Regions from separate parts of the Homo sapiens genome. Here all the other regions are linked to region 6. The links are contacts of gene promoters, found by promoter capture Hi-C in blood cells and fetal thymus (Javierre and others, 2016). All regions are on one chromosome and are shown on one strand. The core of a region is centred on a gene start or on the middle of the fragment in contact, and the rest is flanking DNA. Distances in the headings are between cores, read along the strand shown. Region 1 overlaps FSIP1 (fibrous sheath interacting protein 1). Region 2 holds the start of LOC124903470. Region 3 overlaps GPR176 (G protein-coupled receptor 176). Region 4 overlaps FSIP1 (fibrous sheath interacting protein 1). Region 5 overlaps FSIP1 (fibrous sheath interacting protein 1). Region 6 holds the start of FAM98B (family with sequence similarity 98 member B).

Evidence for each region. The method cuts DNA at HindIII sites, captures the fragments that hold promoters and counts their contacts. A CHiCAGO score of 5 or more calls a contact.
Region 1: a contact is called between a fragment that was not itself captured here and the fragment with the promoter of FAM98B in region 6, in 3 of 17 cell types (activated CD4 T cells, total CD4 T cells and naive CD8 T cells). The highest score is 6.9, in activated CD4 T cells.
Region 2: a fragment that was not itself captured here is called in contact with the fragment with the promoter of FAM98B in region 6 in 3 of 17 cell types (naive CD8 T cells, total CD4 T cells and total CD8 T cells); the score reaches 9.0 in naive CD8 T cells.
Region 3: a contact is called between a fragment that was not itself captured here and the fragment with the promoter of FAM98B in region 6, in 2 of 17 cell types (non-activated CD4 T cells and naive CD4 T cells). The highest score is 7.7, in non-activated CD4 T cells.
Region 4: a contact is called between a fragment that was not itself captured here and the fragment with the promoter of FAM98B in region 6, in 7 of 17 cell types (activated CD4 T cells, naive CD8 T cells, naive CD4 T cells and 4 more). The highest score is 13.1, in activated CD4 T cells.
Region 5: a fragment that was not itself captured here is called in contact with the fragment with the promoter of FAM98B in region 6 in 4 of 17 cell types (total CD4 T cells, naive CD8 T cells, total CD8 T cells and 1 more); the score reaches 7.1 in total CD4 T cells.

What each region holds. Positions count from the first base shown.
Region 1 is chr15:39,719,941-39,723,981 of GRCh38, reverse strand. All of the region lies in intron 9 of FSIP1 (fibrous sheath interacting protein 1), which reads left to right. Among named protein-coding and RNA genes, the nearest start is that of FSIP1, 61 kb to the left of the region's middle. The HindIII fragment of the contact is 572 bases long and covers 2,430-3,001 here.
Region 2 is chr15:39,575,641-39,580,035 of GRCh38, reverse strand. LOC124903470 reads right to left here and starts at 229. Exons shown (of 1, transcript XM_047433405.1): 1 at 1-229. The HindIII fragment of the contact is 3,643 bases long and covers 229-3,871 here.
Region 3 is chr15:39,795,035-39,799,309 of GRCh38, reverse strand. It overlaps GPR176 (G protein-coupled receptor 176), which reads left to right. Exons shown (of 3, transcript NM_007223.3): 3 at 1-302. Among named protein-coding and RNA genes, the nearest start is that of FSIP1, 14 kb to the right of the region's middle. The HindIII fragment of the contact is 2,202 bases long and covers 1,846-4,047 here.
Region 4 is chr15:39,752,050-39,756,292 of GRCh38, reverse strand. The region is part of intron 5 of FSIP1 (fibrous sheath interacting protein 1); the gene reads left to right. Among named protein-coding and RNA genes, the nearest start is that of FSIP1, 29 kb to the left of the region's middle. The HindIII fragment of the contact is 1,099 bases long and covers 933-2,031 here.
Region 5 is chr15:39,631,398-39,635,382 of GRCh38, reverse strand. The region is part of intron 10 of FSIP1 (fibrous sheath interacting protein 1); the gene reads left to right. All of the region lies in intron 2 of LOC105370785 (a long non-coding RNA gene), which reads right to left. Among named protein-coding and RNA genes, the nearest start is that of THBS1-IT1, 47 kb to the right of the region's middle. The HindIII fragment of the contact is 3,626 bases long and covers 624-3,985 here.
Region 6 is chr15:38,450,975-38,455,600 of GRCh38, reverse strand. FAM98B (family with sequence similarity 98 member B) reads right to left here and starts at 1,474. Exons shown (of 8, transcript NM_173611.4): 1 at 1,369-1,474. The coding sequence starts at 1,439. RefSeq lists enhancers at 1,057-1,156, 1,217-1,326. The HindIII fragment of the contact is 3,660 bases long and covers 380-4,039 here.

The sequences.
Region 1 (4,041 bases), core at 1,466-3,965, 1.3 Mb before region 6:
AGAATATCTTTTGAGCTTTTGTTCAATTTCCCTTTGGCATTTCTTCATTTCTAACTAAAACCAGCATTACACATTGAATTTTCAAAGCAGGAATGCTAACATGGCAAAGTATTTTAGGGATATTATTTTTGGATTGGACTACTTTTTGTATAAATACACTGTATCTTGAATAAACCCTGTGTATCTATGTAGTTGATGAATGAGTTCCAATCAGTTGCTAATCCACAAACATTCATAGTTCATATTCACTTTAACTCTTCTGCAAACCATTAACTCACCAGTAATTTTTCTCCATACTCCTTAAGAAAGAATTTCTTTTGAGTGGAATATAAATTTCTGTTTTTGAACAATTGATTCAACACATATTGAGTGCTCCTGGATGTAAGGAATTTTACAGAACTTAAAGATGAATCAGGCAAATAAAATACTTTGGAATAAAAAAGTCTCACTTCAGGCTGGGCATGGTGGCTCACGCCTGTAATCCCAGCACTTTGGGAGGCCAAGGCAGACAGATCACAAGGTCAGGAGATCCAGACCATCCTGGCTAACATGGTGAAATCCCATCTCTACTAAAAATACCAAAAAATTAGCCAGGTGTGGTGGCAGGCGCCTGTAGTCCCAGCTACTCGGGAGGCTGAGGCAGGAGAATGGCGTGAACCCGGGAGGCAGAGCTTGCAGTGAGCCAAGATCGCGCCACTGTACTCCAGCCTGGAGGACAGAGCGGGACTCTGTTTCAAAAAAAACAGTCTCACTTCAAATTTGACTTTTGCATTTACTAGTTCTGTGGACTTGGGCACTAATTAGAAGCTCTCCAAACCTCGTTTTCCTTATTTATAAAATAATAGTAATATTCTTTAAGGTTCTTTAGGTAATGGGTAGCTGAGTTAATATACATAAAGTGTTTAGCACAGTGACACAGATCTCAGCCAATTATGTTATTATAAGTGATATAAAGAACTTATTTCCTTATGGGAGGTATTGAGTATACGTAGAAAACTGTGGACAAGACAGCACAGGCAGGTGCCATAGAAAGCTTTTTTTTTTTTCTTCAAGAGACAAGGTCTCGCTTGTCACCCAGGCTGGAAGTACAGTGGTGCAATCATGGCTTGCTGCAGCCTTTACCTCCTGGGCCCAAGTGATCCTCCAACCTCACCGTCCCCAGAAGCTGGGACTACAGGTGCATGCCATCACACCAGCTAATTTTTTAATTTTTTTTAGAGGTGTGGTCTCACTGTGTTGCCTAGGCTGGTCTTGAACTCCTGGCCTCAAGAGATCCACCTGCCTCAACCTCCCAAAGTGCCCAGATTCATAGAAGGCTCTAAGTAAAGTGCTGTGGTGGTTTAGAGCAGAGAGAGAGAGAGCATATCCAAGGAGTATCCAGAAAGTCTATTTCCATAAGTGAGGGGCAGGAGAAGGAAGAGGAACTAGGGAAGGAGGCAGAGGGATCAGAGACACAGAAGAAAACCACCATTATGTATCACGAGGCTGAAAACTGGTGGCCTACAGCAGTGGTCCCCAAGTATTTTGGCGTCAGGGACTGGGTTTGTGGAAGACAATTCTTCCACGGGCCCAGAGAGGGGGATGGTTTTGGGATGATTCAAACATGTTACATTTATTGTGTACTTTATTTCTATTATTATTATATTGTAACAAAATAATTATACAACTCACCATAATGTAGACTCAGTGGGAGCTCTGAGCTTGTTTTCCTGCAACTAGATGGTTCCATCCGGGGGTAATGGGAGACAGTGACAGATCACCAGGTATTAGATTCTCATAAGGAATATGCAACCTAGATCCCTTGCATGTGCAGTTCATGATAGGGTTCACACTACTGTGAGAATGTAATGCCGCTGCTGATCTAACAGGAGGAGGGAGAGCTCAGGCGGTAACATGAGTGATGGGGAGCAGCTGCAAATACAGTTGAACTTGGGCCTGCCGCTCACCTCCTGCTCTGGGGCCCGGTTCCTAACAAGCCATCTACCAGAACCGTCCATGGCCTGGGGGGTCAGGAGCCCCTGACCTACAGGACAAATTAAGCTCCCAGATGGGTCTGCTTTTGCTTACAAAGGGTTTAATGATTTTTTTTAGCCAACATTTAAAAATTAGGTAAATTCCTATAAAAATCCAAATTTCTAGTTCTCTCTTGAAAAATTCAAATTAGAAAATATGTCAGCATTAGACCTAACTTCTTGCTTGACAATTACCGAATTGAGATGAATAGCAACTGCTCTTTCTATGGGGCACAGATTCTCCGGTTTGCTGCAGTATCCACCACTCTATATTGTATGGCAGGCCCTAAGGCCCACTTCATGCATTTATGTTACTTGTTCAGCCTTTGCAGAGATCGTCAATACATTTTTGAATGCCTGCTTATTTCATAGGAGACACTGTAGTGGTTGATGTAGTGTCCAGACTAGTATGAAGCTTGATCTCTGACCTCAAGGTAGCTTGTAGGATACCAGAGGATATGATGTAAACAATAGAACAAGTTGTGGAGTAACTGTGCAATGAAACAAGAACCACCACCAGATGGGCACTGATCAGATGAAAAGTACGGAAAGTGTATGCTGCGGGAGCACAGAGAAAGGAAAGGTTATTTGATGAAGGCATGATATTTTAAAAATTCCTTTGAAGATTTATCTTTGTTGGTCAAGAAAACAGTTTTCTGAACAAGTTGAAACATAGACTTTCTGACTTATCTCTGTATGGTAACTATAAGGTAGTAAGTTGGTATGCATATAGATTTAAGATGATAAATGTGGTTGAGTCAATGTGGTTAAGTCAGAATAGTTTGAGGAACTCTAGGAATGTGGCTCAGAGATGAAGGAGGTGTTGGTCTTTGTGAAAAGGGCAGATAAGAAGTCTTCTTTTCCTTATGGGCTCACTGATTGTGATGTTCTCATATAGATGCTCTGGCCCAGCACTTAACTTTATGGCAATGTTTTAAAAGCAGCATTTGGCTTTTACGTATCTGATTTCCTTAGCATAAAACAAAGCTTGTGGTCACAGTCAAAAGAAAGAATGGCATATTACTGCTCTTTCTGTAGTGTGAATAATATGTGGTTGCAGTTTTTACATCTGCTTTTTATTTTCATTTTGTCTTAGCAAGAGAACTAATTGAAGCAATTTTTTCTTAAGATCTGTGGTTTAACTGTGCATACTTTTCTTTATCCATCTCCTAACCCTCAACAAATCAGTTCGTTCTTTCCACGTATTGTAAATCCCACCATAAAACTGAGTGATGTTCTATAATTTAGTTACCATACTTCTTATTCGTAGAAGTATCAGATTCCAGTTCTCTCCAGAAATATCTAAGATATAGGAGTTATGTAAGCATTCAGTTTCTTAAATCCTTAGCAACCGGATTCAATAGTAAATTCTATTCCATTTGGCTGTTATATACAAGTATATTTTATTCATCTCTCATGAAGTCAGCTTTACTAAATCTAGAATTCCAGTTCACCGTTAGATTTTTTTTCTGGTTGGGGAGGGCCTCAGAAATGGCTCTCCTTGACAGGAGGCATTGCTGTGTTCTTAAACTAACTAGTTTAATTGAATATAAAGGTCCTCCTTAATTTGATTTATTTTCTTATTCTTGAAATATTGATTCAATTGTACACAATTTGATAAGCTTGAGAAAAAATTAGCAAACATTTGATTGAGGAAAATTGTAGTTTGTATTGATCTCCTTTCTTGCCAAGATCATGCTATTATTGCTGACAGCAACAATTAATTTTTTTTTGATGTCTTCCTGTCTCAATATTAGCTAAAATTGAGGAAATACAGACCATTGTTTGACATGTAATTCTGAAAGATGTTTTATTATTGGGTCCAGGGATTTGTATAGTTCCAGTAAGGGCCATGGACTCTACTTGACCCCAAATGTACTTAGGTGTGTGTTGGTTGAGGGCAGGAATTTAGGATTTTTTAAATGTATGCTAGTCACAGGCACAGAAATCTTATTGACCATCTGCTCATTTCCAAAACCCATAGAAGCCACAGGAGCATGCATTTCTGGGTTTGAGGAACAAACAAGAA
Region 2 (4,395 bases), core at 801-3,300, 1.1 Mb before region 6:
CCCGAGGTGTGGGTTACATTTCTGTGGGTGCACACATTGCCATGAGTGCCGCTGCCTAGTGCTTCTGTCATTGAAGTCTGGTCTCCAAGCCACTGTCCCAAGCCAGCATGACTCTAGCTTCCTGGAATTCCATTCATCTCTTCGGGATGGGACGTCAGCCGCCTCGCTCCCTCTGCTGTGATCCAGCGCTATCGGGCTCGCTCCGAGGCCAGGGCATAGGTAGAAGCTTGACCAAATAAGGATCTCAGCACGGGCAGGGGGAAACCCCTGGGGTTCACCTCCCATCTTAGCACTTAAACCTGGCAGGACTCCCGACTGCTGCAAACAGCCAAGTGTTTACATTCATCAAACAGCAGTTTCGCTTTTCTTGCGTGGGAGTGTTGTATGACAAGATGGTGTGTGTGTGTGTGTGTGTGTGTGTGTATTACGGAAAGAGTGTTTTCTAGTTACTCAATATGTATATAAAATGCCTCTAAAAGATGACCGGTATGTTCCTAAGGCACATGTTTGTTGGATTTCAGATGTTGGGAGGCAGAAAGAAAAGTTTCTACTGGTTGATGAATAAAATCAGATTCTTGTCCCGCAAATCATAGGTAATGATTCATCCAAGCAGATCTGAAGATTCTGGAATCGGCACCCATCCATCTCCCTCCCCTTCCTTCTCCTTCTACAGCATTCATCTTGCTCTTCGAAAAGTAATTGGGTTTTTTTTTTCTTCTTTCCACTTGCTCCATGATACTGGACAGTCAGAAATAGTTCTTGGAGGGATGGGCCGCTCATGGCTCTGGGCTCCTCTGGCCCACTGGATCATTGTGTACAAATCAGATGGGGGCTTGAGGGCTGCAAGAGGCCCACAAAAGCAGAATGCATCTTGTATGAAAAGATTATCTCCCCTAGGCTTAGCTGTGCAGACAGAGTAGAAACCAGCACTCACTGCCCCTTCAGGATTCATGCTGCCATGGCTGAGGGATTGTAGGAATGCCTCTGCAGATTTCTTGGAACTTGGCTTCTTTCAACAAAACAAGGACAACAGTTTCCAAACTTCATCATGCTTTACCAATAAGAAGGTGACCTATACGGTGGCAGGAAAGAGCTTTCTTATTAGAGAAAGCTGACAGGTATAGGAGCTGCTTATCTCAAACACAAAGCCCTTCCTCTTATCATGATACTTCAGTTGTTCTGGGTGGAAAGGAAAGGTCATAGAAGAGGGAGTGTCTGCGCCCCTTAACAGGAATTCACCCACATTCTTGCCAGCCAACATGTGCTGCAAATATTCCCCAAACCTCATATACCTCTGTGCAGCTTTGAGAGAAGCAGGGATGGGAAAAGGGAAAAGAAAACCTATCCCCTTTAATGTGAGGGCAATAGTCCATTTTGAGTGTGTCTCTACAACCTGGAAGCACTGTGATTTTAAGGCAATCAATTAACATGGGCCGAAGTGATGGACCTTTCAGGGAGCTGGTCCAGTTCTCTTTTTTGCCAAGTTGTCATCCTTGAGGATTAGTTACTGAAAATTGTAAGGCATATGGCATTTCACCGTAGGATTTCCTTTTTCTAAGTTTCTCTAATTGGAGGTGGGATTGACCTAAATACATTGGCAGTAAGTGTGAGGAAAGGGCTGTCAGTTACAGCTAGTTTTAAAATTGCGTGTAATTAAGGAGAGCAACATAATTGAGAAAAAATATTTTGTTTATTTAGCATAGAACAGCAAGGTGGGCTGTGATTTTGTGTAGGAATTTTTTAAGTGTTGCAAATTTTCAGTAGTGGAACATTTCTTACAAGTGTGAAGCAATGAAAAATCATTGTATTCTAGAATAGTCTAAAATCATAGCATCTTCAAATTGAAGACATCATAAATTCATTTCTCTCTGAATATGTTCCCTAGATCATAATTCTAAGTTGCTTTACTTTAACTGCATCAGAGGTCAGAGCCAGGAGGAAGTTACCAACAGATTTTTCTTGTCCTTCAATCAAACACCAATTCAAGCTCTCCCTTCTCCATGAGGTGTTTTCCATCTGTTTTATGCTGTGTGTTTTAAAGCACACATTATCTCTATCATAAAACTTATCACCTAACACTCTTTATTATTTAGTTTTTAAAAATTAGCTTTTATTTTTTCACATGTAAAGACCAGAATTTTTTTTTGGTGGGGGGTGGGATGGAGTCTTGCTCTGTCTCCCAGGCTGGAGTGCAGTGGTACAATCTCAGCTCACTGCAACTTTTGCCTCCCAGATTCAAGCGATTTTCCTGCCTCAGCCTCCTGAGTAGCTGGGATTCCAGGCGTGTGCCACTACATCCAACTAATTTTTGTATTTTTTAGTAGAGTTGGGGTTTCGCCATGTTGGCCAGGCTGGTCTCAAACTCATCACCTCAGGTGATCCACCCTCCTTGGCTTCCCAAATTGCTGAGATTACAGGCGTGAGCCACTGTGCCCAGGCAAGGACCAGACTTGAAGTGCCCAAAGCCCTGGGCTTGGGAAGAGAGAGTTCTTATGTTTAAATTTCCAAATCTCTTTGTGTACAAGTCAATTATGGCACAGAAGGACGGGACTACTCACCATTTTCCTACCAGCTCTACCATTTTACTCAGTTATCCCTTAGCTCTTGGTGGGTAAATGTGGTGAGTGACTCACAAACATTGTACTCCTCTTCAAAGAACTGAAGCAATACTTTTATGGAATTGATCTCAGTGGGCAGGGGTAGGCATATTGGTTAAGGGTAAACACCTCCTCCCCTTTTTCCCACTTCCCTGCCAGTGACTGATTTAGGAATTGGCATGTGATTCAAATCTGACGAGGTTTGCTGAAGGCTTCCGGGAAAAGTCCTTTGTTGCTTTTAAGGAAGAGCCATGTGAAATCAGGCTTTCTCCATCTCTTTTGGATACCAACAAGAATGCCGATAAGTGCTGTTTGGTGCTATTGGCCACTGGGGAGCCAAGTTTAGTGTGAAACCAGTGTTGGAGGAGGAAGAACAAAAGCATAGAAAGAACTCGTATGTCAGGTCACATTTTTGAGCTGCTAAATCTCTCAACTCTTAAGGGAATCCTACTTCTAGATTTCTTTGGTTATGTGCTTATTATTTAAGCCAAGTTGTTGTTTTCTATTTCTTAGAACCGTAGACATCATAACGGCCCCTTTCCCTGTGTTTGGATGGCCTTTTCACTCATGCTTTGATTAAACCTCTTCTTATTCCTTTAGAATAAGAGAAGTAAGGATAGGTCATAGGATAAACACATTGTAAAGGCTCTTCACCTATATTACTAAGATGCTTTCCAGAAAATTTGCACCATTTACTGTCCTGCCCATGGCATGAGGCAGCCCTTCCCCCTATCTCTTTGCCTGCAGCCACCCTAGTTCCACACACTCTTAACTGCAGGCTGGTAAGGGTGAGCGTTATTTCCGATTTTATTGTGTCTTTGTATCCCTCTTTTGGGTAACTTTGAGATGTAGTCCAGCAGGTTCATAAAGAAAAGAATAACCAGGATGGATGGATTCCAGTGAAGGGGCAGGGGCATTGACCTGCTAGGAAACCAAGGGTATGGAGGAAAGAAGATGGGAAAAGGAGATGGTGAGGTCTCACACTGGGCCGAAAGATGGAAATGGGGAAGATTAGCAAGGTAGGAAGGTGAGGACATGGAGAACAGGCTCTTAACATGTAATAATGATAAATCCCCAAAAGCCGTCTTTGGCAAAAGTCTTTTTCATACTCTGGACGATAGGTGCAGGCTACTGCAGTGTTGCTGATGGGGAGGACTGTATTTGGGAGCAGCCTCTCTGGCTCCACCAATGTTTATCCTTTATCATCTTAGTAAAAAATGCCACCTTATGGGGCATCCTAAATATGGTCTGGTTTGGGTTTCAGCGTGGAAGCTTTTTCAAGTGTTTGCCATTTTGCAGGAAGGCCACGCACCCAAAGGCAGCCTTACAGATCGGGGTGGTGGGGGGACTGGAAAGTCACCTGTGATTTAATTTGATGAGTCCAAACCATACCTCTTGCCTCTCAGTTTCTTCTCTCTCTACCCATGCTTGAAATTCCTCCAGAAATGAAATCACAGAATTTTTAAGCCAGAAAGAGCCATCTAGTTCAACCACTCAGTTAATAGATGAAGTCGGTTCAAAGAGGTGAAGCAACTTGAAACAGGTCCTGGAGACTGTTGGTGGTGGAAGTCCAGAAGACAGCACAGGTGCGCCGGCTGCCAGCCCACAGTCCTTCCCTTCATATGGTTCTGATCCTTAAGACTCATTTCATATGGTCTCAATGATGTTTCAGGATTAAAATCAGCAGAAATGTTTACTAGTTTCCCAATTAAGAGCAGGGTATGTGTTTCAGATAGGGAGACAGAGAAAGGTGGGGGGCTCAAGAGTGAGGTAAGGAGGAGGAAGGAGAGACAGAGGC
Region 3 (4,275 bases), core at 1,697-4,196, 1.3 Mb before region 6:
AAGCTTGTCTTTCAAAGCTTTCACAATCATTACAACTTTTATCAAGGGGAATAATAATCTCTAGGAAAATTATGTCCACTTTAGGAGAATCTGTCAAGTGTAGCCACTTTGGTGTTGTTCTGATAATATACTGTATATGTACAACTTAATAAATTTTGATGAGGCAGAATCTGGTTGGGTATGTTTCTTATATATGTTTGAAGCAGATGGCTGACTACTAACAGGTCATTGCCAGGTGTATTTCTATACTCTTTGAAGAATAACATTTTAATAAAAAATTGAAAAGCAGTTTCTGAACTCAAGAAAAGTTTTATGAGCTATATTTTCTCCCCCTTTTCTCTCCCTCAAGTGATATACTGTTGGAACCTGTCTCTTCCTACATGGTCTCTGATGAAAGATATTCATTTTTTTTTTCTCATGAATGCAGATGTGGCATTTCAGTAGCATTTTCTTGTGTTGTTGCAACTAAAAGAAAATAAATTCCCTAAGGAGGAACTGCAACAGTTGAAAAAATATCACCAAGATGGGTTCCAGATTGAATTGGCGATAGACACCCAAATCTCTAGGCGGAGCTACACAAGGGAAGCCTGGAGTGCAGCCGTCATCATCCCTCCTGCGGGAGGTCAGGAGCACAGCAGTTAGGGCCATGAGCTTTGAGGTCAGATTGCCTGTGTTTAAATCCTGGCCCCACACTGACTAGCCTTGTGACCTTGGGAGGATGAAGTAACCTCCATGTACCTCAGTTCTCTCTCTGTAAAATGGGAGGATAATAATTGTGTCAGAAGCTTCTGTTGCCCCTTCTCACATATTTCACCTATGACTTTAGCTGTGTCTGCAGTGGGCTGTTGCTGGCGGCATCTACTCGCTTCCCTGCAAGCAGAGCTCCCTGTGTCTGGGAATAATCCTTGGCCTGTGGGGCATGGGAACCACTGGATAAATACCCCTGCTTCCTGTCCTGCTGGACAATTGTGGGAGGCCTCTGTCCAGTTCTCAAGAGGTCACTGACACAGAGTTAAGTCCCTGTGGCCCACCATGGCACTTCAATAATGCAGCCTTATATTGACTCTACTTTCTCCTTCTCTGACTCACTTTCTGCAGTCCTCATTCATGCCTCAAGGATCACCTCCCAAACATACTACCTGCACAAAGCCCTCATCTCAAGCTCTGTTTTCAGGGAGTCCAAGTGAGGCATAGAGCACCTGTTAGGATTAAATGAGATAATCTGTTTAACACAATGCCTGGCACAGAGTACAGCTATATCAGTGTTAGCACTTATACGTTACATAAAAAAATAAAGTGGCTAGGCAGCTTATGCGGAATATTCTTAGAAAACTGTAGGTCTTTTCCCCAGTTATTCTAACAGTAATTAATTTTCATAATGATGATACTTTGGGGTAATACATAATGCCAAGGGACTATTAGATTCCCTGAAGAAAAAATAACTCTGTAAGCCAGAGTATTTCTTAATTAGACAATTCTCAGTTGAAAAAAATAGGATGTTAAAAGAAGGTTCACCTTGGCCACTAACGTGTAGGCCATATCTGAATATGAATGCACTCAATGACCGTATCGAAGTAAGAACAGAGTAGAGTACATAGAGTATCTAAGGACAGATATGCAAATCCAAAGTGGCCCCATCTGTAGGAAAGAAACTGCAAGTTAGTTGGTGGGCTAAATGAACATCTGGAGCTCAAGCACCAGTCTGATTCATCTGAGGAGGAAAGCCACTGCTGCATCCCAGCTGGGTACTGCTGAGCTCTTGGCAGACCTGCCCGAGGTGAGGTGGCTCTGTGCATATGGAGCTGCTGCTACAGGTTGGATCAGAGATGCACAAGGAAAAAAGCTTATTACGGGCGGAATTGTGGTGGAGGGAAAGGGTTAATGCTTTCATAGTGTAGTGTACCAACGTCTCAACATACAGTGTCAATAATACCATAACATAGTGATGCACTTTCCCCAAATAGTTGTAAATATTTAGCAGATTTGTATCCCAACTAGTGTGCCACATTAGAGCTCTGTAACCAAAAGAGAAATGAGTCATGGTAAATAACCTGGGAATCTGTGAATAAAATAGGAATTGAAATAAGTATCAATGCCCAGGGCAGCATCAAAAGCCTTTTTGTGCAAGACGTATAAAATAAATGGAAATGAGCTTAGATTCTCCATACATGAGGTTTCAGAAGATAAAACAGCTCCCTTTTTCTTAGCCTCAGTTTCAACCCATGTTTTCCCCCATTTGTGCCAAAGGTATCAGTTGATCAGTAGAATAAAGGTTGGAAACCTGTATAGAAATGAAACTGTGATCTCCAGCATTGTTTATGCGAACCTCTATAGCACTTCATGTCCTGGGGATTCAGGGGCTTCTTATTGCCAGATTGAAATGAGTGAATGGTGAATGAATACATAAGAGATACAGCACCTGGAGCAGGGGTGCGGTCTCTGTCGTGTATGAGTGATGAAAGATTTGCTTTCAGTGGAGTTATTGCTGGCTCTTATTGATTTCCTTGGAATGACTCCTGCAGAGTTAAAAGGCATCAAACGCAAGGCCTTTGATCCATCTCCTTCAAATACCCAAGCCTCCTTTTAATGCACTAGGAGTGTAAGTTCCAAAGTTGGAGGGGAAGTTCAATACTGAGAAACGCAGTTCCAGGCATGTGTGTTGGGCTTGAAGAATAATTATTCATCAGCTATGTTGATCAGAACTTAGTGATGAAATCTTTCTGCCTCCCTTAAATTTCTCTTTATATGTGTATTCATTGCAGTCCATATACAAAATGTAATACACACACAAAGGAGTTACTAGAATAAACACGTGGTATACATTCTAAGGCAACAGGTGAGAAAATAGAACACACGGCATGATGCTCTTGCTATATTAACCATATTACCTGTGCATCTAACTTCTCTTCTCTCTTTGCCTGGCCCCTCTCATTCACATGCATTGCCTCAGGGGAGGGGACGAGGCTTTCATTGCCTCAAGGGAAAGCAGATATCCTTTGAATCTCTTCCTAGATTTGGGTCTCAAAACCTAGGTGTTAGGAGAACAGAGGGGACTCTTGGGGTTAGGCCAGTGAAGTTTTGGTCGTAATTGTCAAGGAGTGGGGCATGCTCCAGGCATCTACTGGGTAAAGGCCAGGAATGCTGTTAAATACCCTCTAATGCACAGGACAGCCCTCACAACAAAGAATTATCTGGTCCAAAATATCAGTAGTGCTAAGGTTGAGACACGCTGGGTTAGCCAAAAGTTTGAGGTGGTTTGAGGAGGGGGGGACCATCTCCCCAACCCTTACCTCTGTCCTCCATGCAAACCCAGGTTATTTATGGAGAAAACAGAAGAAATTTAAAGAGAGTTGTGTAGGTCATGAGACATCTGCTCGGTGGAAAAATGCAAGCCTGGCTGCTTTTCCTCAGCTGGATATCTGCTTCAGGGATGGGCTTGCTGATCGGCCCTCTGAATTTGGAGGTGTGAGAAAGGAATTGGAGAGAGATGACAGAGTAAACAGAGAGGGCATCCTGCACACCCATCATGTGGCATGGTGAGAATGGGTGATTTTCTCAATGTCAAGGAGACACCACAGAAACTCGACTTGAAAACTGGCCCCTGGCCAGACTTGGAGGAGGCTGTGGGTGGATGCTGAGAGGGGTTGAAAGTGGTCAGGCCGGCACTGTGTCTGGCACCAGAGATGTGTACACTGAGGGCCACATGCCACACCTCTGGAGATTCCCCACCAAGTACCAATGAGAGAACAATGGCTGCACCAATCAAGGAGAAGATGTTTCCTCCTTTTGCCCATCCTTCCTCCTAACTCCATGGAGGCAGAAGGGGGACCCGCGAGAGGAAACATCAAGCTATAGGAGGAGAGGATTCTCATCCACTCATGGTGAGTTCCTTGGGCTACAGATCAAGCCTGAGTTGGGGGAGAGGAAGAGCATTACATTAGGCATCATCGTGAACTTTAAAACTGGACCAGACTCTTCAATATCTGAAAGTAACCGTAGAGTACTAGGATCTCCCTGGGCTACAGTTAAGGAACAAGAAAGGAAGCTTCCTTGGATTAGTTACCAATTCTAAGTTCAGACTCTACAGTAAATCATGACGACAGTTAGGGGAGCCAGCCTTGGAATAAAGGTGACAAAGAGGACAGCACAGTACAGACAGGGCAACATGTACCTGATGATGTCACTCAGCTGCTAAGTCACATGTCTCTACCTTTGAACTTCCAGTTAATGTGAGACAATAAATTTCATGTTGTACACACAAGTTTGAGTCAAAGT
Region 4 (4,243 bases), core at 233-2,732, 1.3 Mb before region 6:
ATCCCAGTTGGCTTATAACATCACAAATAAGCAACAGCAAATAAATGAAGAAAATAACTGTGGTTGGATAGTGCATTTACTTTTATTTATAGGTGCTAAACACAAAAGATGCCTTGACTCCAAGAGAAAGTTGAAAACAACATTAAATTGATTTATATCACATTTGAACCTTATAATCCAGACATATTAACCTCAAGTTTACTGGGATTTTGAAGTAAACAATATTGTACTTGCTAGAGATCTCTGAAGTATTTTAAAAGTCTGTCCCATCCCATTACTGAGGGGTCACTTTTGGGTTTTTTTAGAGGCATGTTGCAAAAATCAAAACTCTTTTACATCGCCAGGAGTTTTCCCTTAGTTTCTATCATTTATCTAATGAATACAGGTAGAATTCAATATTCTTTGAGACAAATACATCTAGTGACAGGGTTGCTTTTTGATAGAGGTTATTCTTTTTGTCTTTGTCACGTTTCTCTCTTGTGTTTCTAGCTCCAAATATAGAAATGCATATAAACACAAAACATCAACATCATAACCAATTAGGCTTTTTCAAATTTGAGAATACTTTTTTCTAGGTGCCTTTTCTGTGAGACTCAGATATATGATACTTCTGCTCTTGGATGCTTGGGTTAAATACTCAAAGAAAATCTGGTAGTCTCTTTCTACTCTGATATGCAGAGGGTAGAGGGAGGAAATCACATAACTGTGCTGACTGACACAGGCAAGGATTTTGGTTTTTAATTTCTGTTGGAGTCTCAGCATTGTTTAGCAATCTCTTGCATTCTCCAAAATGGTGATTCCAAACTATTACTATGTGCTTCATCTCCCATCTTCTGCAAGACCTTCACTGTCTTGGTTGGTCTTCCTTTCCAGAGAAAATGAATCTACAGGGTAGGAATTCCTTTTACATTCATTTCTTCTGTTTCTAAGCTTCATCCTGACTGTGTTCATTCATCCTCTGCCTCTTGCCTCTAACTTTAGATGGAGGGAAGGTACTCTTATTCTCTGAGGCCAAAATCAGTAACATCCCATCCCTTTCACTGTGTTCCTGGCTGTTGGTTTGTTCGTCATTCCATTTTTTCATCTAGAGCTTCAATCTCTCTGGCTCTTTCCCTTTAACTTACCATGTTTAACTCTTCTAGTCCTAAAACAGAATCAAAAAGCCATTGAACCAATGAATAACCAACAGAACATACAAATAAGCCTTTTTCCTCATTTTTTTTTTTAATCTTACTCTAAAACAGACACCACTCAGTTTCCCTCTTCTCCTTAAAGGTCAGACTTCTTGAAAGAATAGTCCACATCTCTTGGTGCTACCTGGTCAACTTCCATTTACTTCTTAACTTTTCAGTGTCTGTATTTTCTACTGTCACGCTGTGGAAGCTGCTTCATAAGTGGTCCTCCTAAATTTGAAATCTAATGGCATACCTCCAGTTTTGATTGTACTTGACATCACTGTAGAATCTGACACAGTGACCTCTCATAGCATAGTGCAATTTTTACTGGATTTGTTATTCCCTGCTGGTTTTCTTCTTTTTCTTTCCTTCTTCCTCCTATTGTTGAAACTTATTCCTTCTTTTATATGTTTTCTCTGCTTTAGTTAATGGTTTCATCACCCACCTAGTCTCCTAAACTAGAAATTGAAGAGCCAGCCTCAGTTCCTCTGTTATTGTTCTTTTACACTTCTTCCTTGAGTTCCCCAAATGAGTATTTGTTCTGCCCTATCTGTATCTGACCTGTTTTTTTTTTATCCCCATTATTAAATGGTTTGGTCTCAGCATTTCTCTATCAGATTATTCAAACAGTTTTCAGTCTCGCCTCCATGGTGTCATTATTTTCCTGCAAGATCATTGTACTGGTTATCTAGTGCTGTGTAACAAATTACCCCTAAAACATGGCAACCTAAGCCAACAAACATTTATAATCTCACAGTTTCTGTGGGCCAGGAATCTGGGAGTATCTTAGCTGGGTGGTTCCGACTCAAGATCCCTCCTGTCAAATGGTTGCCGGGGCTACAGTCATTTGAAAGCTTTATTGGAGTTGGAGAATCGGCTTCCAAGCTCACTCACATGGTTGTTTGCAGACCTCAGTTTCTTGCTGCCTTTGGGTTGGAGACCTTAATTTCTTACTACGCAAACCCCTCCATAGGATGCGTGTATGTCCTCACAACATGGTAGCTGACTTCTAGAGCACTTAGTAAGTGCTCAACAAATTGAGTTATTATTAGTAATCCTGTGATTACTAGACGTTACTGCATCAACAGGAACATGGTTTGTGTCTCTTATATTATCATTTATATGTCAAAGAATTTCTTCAGGTTTCATACATCTGTTAGCTATGCATAGGTCTTATATATCTTTTTATTGTTATTACCCTGATTGGTGTTTAGCCCATCATATTTATAAAGGGTTATTAATGACATAGACGAAAGTTAGTGACTTTTTAGACATTTATAATTTGTTTTCTATTTGTACATTTAACTAAATTATCTTATTAATTTTAATTATTTTTACTTGTTTACCTTTTTTTTAGTTTATGAACACATAACCAGGAAATAATGTTAATTTTTGTGTCCTTTTTAACAATTATTCCTATGCTGAGAGCTGTAAGAACTTAGTGTTGAAATTTATTGAATGCATTTCAATATATATTTAAATTATCATAAATTTTTATTTCATGTCCAACATATTTAATGTTTTAAAATTAATGGATTTAAATACCAAATGAGTCTTTTATTCCTGGGCCAACCCTTCTTGGTTATGGAAGATTATTCTTTTAATTTAGTACCAGATTTAAATGAATGAATTTATTCAGATTTTTTGCATCTATATTTATAAGCAAGGTTAGTTGTGTTTGTGTGTGCACACACAGGTGTGTGAAATGTTTGTTATGGTATAGGGGGTGAAGTTGAGGGTGGAGAGTCGATGTATGTGTGTTTGCTTTGTCAGGCTGTGTGAACTTCATAAAATGAATGGGGATGGCTGCTCACTTATTTCTATGATTTGAAACAGTTTATATAACACAGGGATTATCTGTTCCCTTCAAATTTGAAAGATTTCACTGGAAAAACCATCTGGTTCAAATAATTTCTTGGAGGCACTTCTCTGACTCTTTTCTCAGCTGCCTTCATATTTGCTATTCTATTTCAGGTTACTAGCTATTCTGGAGTCAATTTTGGCAATGCATCCATGTCACTAAGATTTTAAAGTATCCACTTCATGAAGATTTAAAAATTTACTAACATGCAATCTCAGATAGTCTTTTAAATAATAATTCTTTTTCATATTGTTTGTACATCCTCTTTATCTCTAATTTTGTTAATGTTTTCTCAATCTTTTTAACCTGGAAGTTTTTTCTAAACTTTTTATTTGGGCACAGTTTTACATTCATAGAAAAATTATGAATATGGTACAGAGATTTCCCCTATACCCACCCCCAGTTTCCCTTATTATGAATATCTTGCATTTGTATGGTTCATTTGTTTCAACTAGTGAACCAATATTGATATATTCAGGTTTCCTTAACTTTTACTTAATGTCCGTTTTTTGTTCCAGAATCCCATCCAGGATGCCACATTCCATTTAACCCTCATGCCTCCTCAGTCTACTCTTGGCTATGACACTTTCTCAGACTTTTTTTATTTTTAATGACCTTGACAGTTTTGAGGAGTACTGGTCAGGTATTTTGTAGAATGTCCAAGAGTTGGAATTTATCTCATGCTTTTCTCATGATTAGACTGAGAGTATGTGTTTTTGGGAGGAAAACCATGGAGTTACAGGGTCATTTTCATTACATTACATCATATTATTAACATAACATTGCTATTAATGTTAACTCTGTTCACCTGGCTGAGGAAATATTTGTAAGATTTTTCCACTGTAAGTTACCATATTTCCCCATCCTTTGCCACACTCTACTCTTTGGAAAGAGATTGCTATTTGCAGCCCCTGCTTAAGGAGTGGTGCTGGGAAAACTTGCTAACCATAGGAAGAGAGATAAAACTGGATCTCTAACTTACCATGTACAGAAATCAACTCAAGATGGACTAAGGATTTAAATATATAAAAATTCTAGAAGAAAACCTAGGAAATACTCTTCTGGTTATTGGCCTAGGCAAAGATTTTATGACTAAATTCTCAAAAACAATAGCAACAAAAACAAAAATTGACAATGGGAACCTCATTAAACTAAATATACTAATCGTTATTTAGAAAATGATGATGACTTTCTTTTCTTCTCCAGA
Region 5 (3,985 bases), core at 1,187-3,686, 1.2 Mb before region 6:
ATCTTTGGTATGCATGTATCTATCTGGCAAATGGATTTTTTTTTTTTTTGAGACAGAGTCTCTCTCTGTCGCCAGGATGGAGTGCAGTGGCATGATCTCAGCTCACTGCAACCTCCGACTCCCTGGTTCAAGCGATTCTCCTGCCTCAGCCTCCCAAGTAGCTGGGATTATAGGCATGCACCACCATGCTCCAGCTAATTTTTGTATTTTTAGTAGAGAGGGGGTTTCACCATGTTGGCCAGGATGGTTTCAATCTTCTGACCTTGTGATCCGCCCGCCTCGGCTTCCCAAAGTGCTGGGATTACAGGCGTGAGCTACCGCACCCAGCCCAAATGCTTTTTTTACTAAAGGCACATAAGCAGAGAATAAACAGTTTGCTTGTACCTCATAGGGGCAGCAGAATAACTTCATTGCCTTGCTTTTAGGCCTCTATCTTCTTTTTGGCTCTGTGTTACCATTTTGTCTGCAAGGTTTCACACAGGGCACCATGTTAGTCCAATATATTGTGACATTGTGCTCATAGGATCCTGGGAGTAAGATACATTAGGTACCACTGATGTCTTGGTGTAAGATGCACATGTACTAGTGGAAAGGAGACATGGCGTCCGCATGACAGTGAAGCTTCATTCTCTATGCCTCACCATTTTCACAGTAATGATCACTGTGTTTTAGATACTTTATTTTGTTCTGAGAAGTAGCTCTAAACAGGCCACATGCTAGTGTGGTGAAGACAATGAAGAAAGGGGAAAATGGTTTGAGAAAGTTGCAGTTCTTGGCCAAAAAATGAAATTGCTGGATAAATCAAAGTAGAAAGTTACATTGACAAATAGGGCTGAGTTATGAAATGTATAATATGCTCTATCCAGGTGTTGCCAGATGAAGAGTGTTCAGCTGTGTTATACAGTGCTGAGAGGTCCAGTAAGATGGAGACTGAGAATGAACAGCTGCTGTAGAAATGTGCAGGGCATTGGTGTGATAGACAAGAGCAGTTTTAACGGAGTGGTGGACTAAACCCTGTTTGGGTTGAGTTTAAGAGACAATAGAAGGAGAGGGATTTGGTGATAGTAAGACCAATTATTTTAAGAAATTTTATTGTAAAGAAAGTAAGAGAAATGCAGTGGTGGGCAGAGAGAGGAACGGGATCAAAAGAGGGCTTTTCCTTAATATTGGAGAATAGCAGCTTTTTGTATACTCATGGGAAAAATCCAGTAGAGAGGGGGAAAGCAGTGACGCAAAAGAGAGTGGGGAGATTGCCAAAGCGATGACCTTGAGTAGGCAAGACAAGGTGGTCTCTTGTGTGCAGGTAGAGGGGACAGCCATCAAGAGGAGCACAGGGAGTCCGTTTAGTGACATGAGGGATGGTGGGGCACTGGGTACAGGTGCTGGTAGATGGGTGGTGGAGCTTGTGGAAGAACTGAGGGCCTATATGTAAGTTTCTGTATCTGCAAATTTGGAGGCTGTGAGAATCTTTAGATCGTTTAGGAATGTTGTTGGTTTACTCTGCTGTTGGAGTTTTTTCACCTATTGTCCAGTGTGTATGACAGCAAAGTCTGGTGTTTCATTTTACATGAAGATGATATAATCAGCGTCTATTACAACATTTTAATATTTAGCACTTAAATATGAACTATAGGTTGAAATAAATTAGAATAATAGTATGTGATGGCTTCAGTTTTGAAACGGAATGTTTAAATCCCTAATGAATCTTCAAATTTATATATTTATTCAATTAACTACGTCTAAAGATTTTCCTCTCCACTGGCTTCACAGTCCATATTGCAAGTTTTAGTGTAGAAGTTAGTTATAATACAGTAATTATACTGTGCATTAATAGGTTCATGGTAATTTATAAATGCAAAATTGATTTTAACGGGTCAGTCATGAAGAAGTCACCTGGCTTAATTAACTGTTGAATTCAGTTAAGAAATGCATTTTACGAATAAAAAAAACTAGATTAAGTTAATTAATTGTTTGGACATTTAAAAAGTATAGCCAGGCCGAGTGCAGTGGCTCACACCTGTAATCCCAGCACTTTGGGAGGCAGAGGCAGGCAGATTGCGAGGTGAGGAGATCGAGACCATCCTGGCCAACATGGTGAAACCCCGTCTCTACTAAAAATACAAAAATTAGCTGGACGCAATGGTGCGTGCCTATAGTCCCAGCTACTTGGGATGCTGAGGTAGGAGAATGGTTGAACCCGGGAGGGGGAGGTTGTAGTGAGCCGAGATCGCACCACTGCACTCCAGCCTGGCGATAGCAAGATTCCATCTCAAAAAAAAAAAAAAAAAAAAGAAGTATAGCCTATGTGGGGAAGATTTTGGACATTAAAAATGATAATTATAGGAGTGAAATTTATGTCTAGCAAAGGGAAGTACAATTCTGAGTCCATATCTCTGTGTTTTCATTTTTATGCTCCTTGTATTTCGACCTATCACCCTTCAATTAATTCTTATTACCCGATTTGAGAGAAATTGTGTTTTTGCCCTGCCTACTTGAAGTTAAAACATTAATTTGAAATTAGATTAAAAGGAAATAAAGGCTGCTCATTATTTTGTCTGACTTCCAAAGACAGTTATTTATTTATTTTTTTTTGAGACAGAGTCTCACTCTGTCACCAGGTTGGAGTGCAGTGGCCGATCTCGGCTCACTGCAACCTCTGACTCCCTGGTTCAAGCGATTCTCCTGCCTCAGACTCCTGAGTAGCTGGGATTACAGGCACACGTCACCATGCCCAGCTAAGTTTTGTATTTTTAGTAGACACAGAGTTGCACCATGTTGACCAGGATGGTCTCGATCTCCTGACCTCGTGATCCACCCTCCTCGGCCTCCCAAAGTGCTGGGATCACAGGCTTGAGCCACCATGCCTGGCCAAGACAGTTATTTCTATATTACAAAATCAGAAGTTGCCGGGCGCAGTGGCTCACGCCTGTAATCCCAGCACTTTGGAGAGGCTGAGGTGGGAGGATTGCTTGAGCTCAGGAGTTCAAGACCAGCTTGGGCAACATGGCAAAACCTCATCTCTACAAAAAAATTAAAAAATTAGCCGGGCATGGTGGTGCGTATCTGTAGTCCCAGCTACTTGGGAGGCTAGGTGGGAGAATAACTTGAGCCCAGCAGGTGGAGATTGTAGTGAGCCAAGATTGAGCCACTGCACTCCAGCCTGGGTGACAGAGTCGGACCCTGTCTCAACAACAACAACAACAAAGAAAATCAGAAGGTATAAAAATTTGAAGATTTAAAACAAATTTTCAGCCAAAATATTTTAGCATATTTAATTAGGTGATGTTTCCGACAACCACCACATTGAACATCTATTGTACTCGTCAGTCTTTATATAATCCATAATTCCATTCTAAATAAGTGACTCAGCACCACCATCTAGTGCAGAGGCCAGAGCTTGTGCTAGCTCATTGGAAATCAAAGGAGAAAATATTAACATGACATGATTAGAAAATGTTCACATGAAAGATGGGGGCTCTTTTTTGGTTTGCTGATTTGAAATATTTATTTAAATAAAGTAAATAAGGAGAGCTTTCCCTGTAAATACTTATGAACAGAAATGGTTTTCTGCCATGTTTGTGAGGCTTTCTATTAATATATATGTACTTGAATAGGTTTCTATAATTAAACCTAACCACAATCAAAGACTGTGATTATTATTCAGTTCTATTTTCACAGCAGACCAAATTAAACCTCTATGTCAGACTTGTAGTGAATATCACAGCAGTAGGCCCAGAATGCAGGCTTTTTATTACGCTTGGGCATTTTTGCAAATCTGAAGCATTTTTTCCATGGTGAGTGGACATGAAGTCTGGGAAGAGGTGTCTTCGTTACTTCGCCTCTGCCTGTAGGTGGGGTGAGTCATTGCCTATACAGGGTGATATGGAGAATACTTTCAGCACCCTTCCTTTCAACCAGTTTGTCTGTCTGTCTGCCCTTGCTGGGATCTGAGGTTTCTCACATTGGGGAGCTCTCCAGGAGTTAA
Region 6 (4,626 bases), core at 225-2,724:
TTCCAAGGGACTTCACAGAAGTAAAAATGCCCCCTAAATAATCAATGGCACTGTTCTTTCGTTTGACAAATATGTATTCACGATCTACTAAGTGCAAGACTCCGTAACCCTGGGTCACTGCAAAGTAGGTATTATCAGGGTTCAACTAAAGAAACAATTGATAGAGGGGCAAATGCAGTTTTAGAGAAGATAAAGTGGGGTGTGGGATTGGTTCAAGCTTCATAATAACGCTGCAAAGGCACAGCTTCCCCTATCAAGAAACAGCAGCACGTAGCAGGGCAAACAAATGTGCAGATGGCTCCAAGCTCTTTATTTAATGTGCACTGTATGACTCAACTATCTGGTCCTATGCTTACTGCTGTGGACTCTTCTCTAAGCTTTTCTTCATTCATTTACTCATTCATTCAACCACTATTTACTGTAAAAGACTCCGTTCTAGTGTGTTGCTGGGAAAACATCGGTGAATAAAATATGCAAAGCATCAGTTTTCCAGGAGCTGACTTGGGGAGGAGGAGGAATAAAACGAGGGAGAAGCAGAGTTCAAGAGACAAATGAATGGGCAGGACATGATAATTTGGGATGGGGACAAGAGCTGTGTGGAAAAAAACAGGATGAGGTTGAGGGGGAGATTACGAACCACCACACTTGTTAAGTATTAACATTACTCCCACCTCCACCCTGAGTTCTCACAGCACTTACCATTCTGCACTGTAAATACCAGCCGGCAGCAGACTTGCAGCCTGCGCGACTATGTAAGCCAAGAGTAATCTGAAAAACTATCCTTTTCCCTTGCCTAGGGGAAATTTACAAACGTAAATATGTGTAAATTAATATACAAGCTAATATACACGTTGACGAACGGACGAAATGGTTGAAAGAACGAACTCGCAATGAACTACAACACTTTCTCCGGTCAAAGTAAAAGCCATTCGCTCCAGAGCCCCAAGTAAGCCACAAGTTGTACATTGTAGGAGACAACAGTCCTCAACAGCAGCTCAGGTTCCAGCACCTCCCTCCGGGCGCCAGAACTACGTCAACACAAATATCACCTGCGGGCGCGAGCTAGCCCAGAAAACCGGTGCTAGAAGGGCCGCTCCGCGCCACCCGGCGGATTCCTGCAACAGAGTTTCGAGGCAAGAAGTTTCGAAGAGGGGGCCACGAACCCCAGCTCTCCGGCCCTGCTCCACCCCCCAAATAGATTTCTCTCCCGCCTCCCGCTTAACTCCGTCGGCGCCGGAGGGATCGAGGCAGGGAAGGAGGCCTACACATGGCCGCCCAGGCCCACAGAGGCCCAAGGGAAGTAGGCTAAGCAGCCAGGCCAAGGAGAGGTTGCGTTTTCAGGGAAAAGGCGTCTCCAAAAGCACTCACCCCAGCGCCTCCAGTGTGTCCAGCACGTCTCCCTCCATCGTCGGTTGGGGACCCGGCTCCGGCCCTCTCATGGTCCTTTGGCCCAGAGCTGTTCGGCGCTCTAAGTAGCCCGCCGGAAACTAGCGTCACCGCGCCAAGGTTCCGGTCCGGGTCTGGCCGGTAACTGCCTGAGAGCACAGCTGAAGAAGGGCGCAAAGGTTCCCAGCCCCGAGGCAATAAACACTTCATAGTGCCTAAAACCGCTGCGTGTAACGATAATAATTTTTTAAAAGAATAGTAGAAATAATAAATAATAGTAATAAAGAGTTCTCTGTGTTGGGACTTTTCTGTGTGTTCAAATAAATTTTAGCAAATATCGTGGTATCGGGTTGATCTCAACCTATCCGATTCCAGACCTTTTTAATAACAGAAATCTGAAATAAAATTATAATTATCTTCAGCTAAAATTAGTAACTAATATCACATGCCTACACATATAATTTTTAAATCAATATACACGACGATGCTTCAACTTGAAGGAAAAAATGAAGTAATTTATAACAAGGTAATATTTTTCTCCTTATGAAATGCGGAAGACCAATGAAGTGATCAGATGCTTGCATCTATCTATGTAGAATCCCCTCAACTGCATATTCAGATGATGTGCTTCATTGCTGACAAAGCATTAGTTGTATAAGCAACAAACATACCGCCAGCAAAGTAAGGTAGTTGATGTGGTTTTCCAAAATTGTGGCGAATTCTCTGTAAAGTTCCAAACAAACAAAACATAATATACCCTCTGTGTACTATCCATGAAGAATTCAATCTCTTATCTAAAGGATTTAAAAAATGTATTTTAGGGTTCATATGTAAAAGGTACTAAGAGTATAAGGTTAGATCATTATTAGCAGGCATGTCACCTACATGAATACTCTAGCAGAACTGTTGGAAATCCTGCATGAAGTATAACTATTGATCCCTTGTATGGACCTGTCCCTTCCATTGCAGACTACATAGCATTCGTAGCCCCAGTCCAATAAAGACCAGTAATGCTCTCGCCTTCCTAATTATGGTTACAAACAAAAAGCATACCCATAAATGTGTAAAACACTCAAAGGTAAGCTGTAGTAGTCCACTCTCATATTGCTATAAAGATATACCTGAGACTGGGTAATTTATAAAGAAAAGGGGTTTAATTGGCTCATGGTTCCACAGGCTGTACACGAAGCATGATGCTGGCATCTGCTCCACTCCTGGGGAGGCCTCAGGAAATGGACAGTTGTGGCAGAAGGGGAAGGGGGAGTGCAGCTATCACGTGGCCGGAGTAAGAGGAAGAGAGAGGGTGCAGGGAGGCAGGGAGGTGCCACACACTTTTTTTTTTTTTTTCAGTCTCGCACTGTCGCCCAGGCTAGAGTGCAGTGGCATGATCTCAGCTCACTGCAAACTCCGCCTCCCGGGTTCACGCGATTCTCCTGCCTCAGCCTCCCGAGTAGCTGGGATTACAGGCGCCCACCACCACACCCGGCTAATTTTTGTATTTTTAGTAGAGACGGGGTTTCACCAGGTTGGTCAGGCTGGTCTCGAACTCCTGACCTCGTGATCTGCCACACACTTTTAAAAAACCAGATCTCATGATAAACTCACTCACTATACAGTGCCAAGGCAGGAATGGTGTCAAACCATTCAAGAGAACTCTGCCCTCATGATCCAATCACCTCCCACCAGGTCCCTCCTCCAACATTGGGGATTATAATTTAACATGAGATTTGGGCACAGACACAGATCCTAACCATATCATAAACTCAACCATACATTTGTATAATGACTATTATTACTGTATATTTTAGTGTTGTACAAGGCTTAAGCGTAAAATTACTTGCAGTTTAATGTATCTGAATTCATCTCCAAATAAGGGAGAGGAGAATGTATATTAGTGGTTACTGCCTCTTGTCAGAGTTGGGGTGTCATAGAAGGTACTAGTCTTAGTACTCTTGGCAAAAAGTCTCTGTAAAAATCAAATAGAAATGAGGTAACTGTTCTTTATTATTATTGATCTTAAGTGTTCTGCTGCTGGTTTTCCTAAAAAATCTAAATAAATGAATAACAAAAGTTATGCACAGAAAAAGAACTAAAAACAAACAAAAAAGCATGACTGGCCTAGCATGGTGGCTCGCATCTGTAATCCCAGCACTTTGGGAGGCTGAGGTGGGAGGATCACTTGAGTCCAGGAGTTTGAGACCAGCCTGGGCAGCAAAGTGAGACCATATCTCTACAACAAATTTAAAAATTAGTCAGGTATGGTGGTATGCACTTGTAGTCCTAGCTATTGAGGAAGCTAGGGCAGGACGATCAGGATTGCTTGAGCCCAGGAGGCCGAGGCTGCAGTGAGCTGTAATCAAGCCACTGCACTCCAGCCTGGGCAACAGAGTGAGACCCTATCTCAAAAGAAAAAAAAAAGCATGACAGATATTTGAAAAAACTGAAAAGGTCTAACATAGTAAATGGAATAATTGGACTCCAACAAGACCCTTGAAAAAATGAGACAGAAGCAAGAAGAGACTCTGCTAAAAATTTCCTGACAAAACACTGATCCAAGAGCACTGTTAATGTCAACCAGGACGTATACAAAGAAATTCACAATTTAGGAAAATTTTTGTAAAAATGCTGAAAACAAAAGATAGAAGGAAAAGCTTAAAAGCAGCTGGAGAAAAAAATCAAACTTTAACAATAATATAAGCTGACTTCTCAAAAGAAACAATGGAAGCAAGAAAATCATGAAACAACATCTTTCATATGCTTTAAATAATGACAAATCCAGAATTTTACACAGTGGAAATATCCTTAAGAAATGAAGGCAAAATAAAGATGTTTTCAGATAAACAAAACTCATGTAAATTGTTTCCAGCAGACCCATGTCAAAAGAAATATTAAAGAGGGTTCTTCGGGTTAAAAAAATGATGCCAGATGAAAAAAAAATGATGCCAGATGAAATCCCAATGGTGCAAAAAATAATGAAGAGTATCACTGGAAATGGTAAATATGTAAGTGAAACTAGATATATATTGACTATTCAAAACAGTAATAGTAATGACTTCTGAAATGTAAAATATAGAGAGAATTCAGGGGGTGAGGTGCTGACAAAGAGTTTAAAAACAATAATGTTCTTCCATTATCCAGGCAGTGGTAAAATAATGAATTTATGGTAGCAAATCAAGATTGCATATTGCCATCATTTAGGTAATCACTAACAGAATTATGAAATAGTATATAACTAACAAC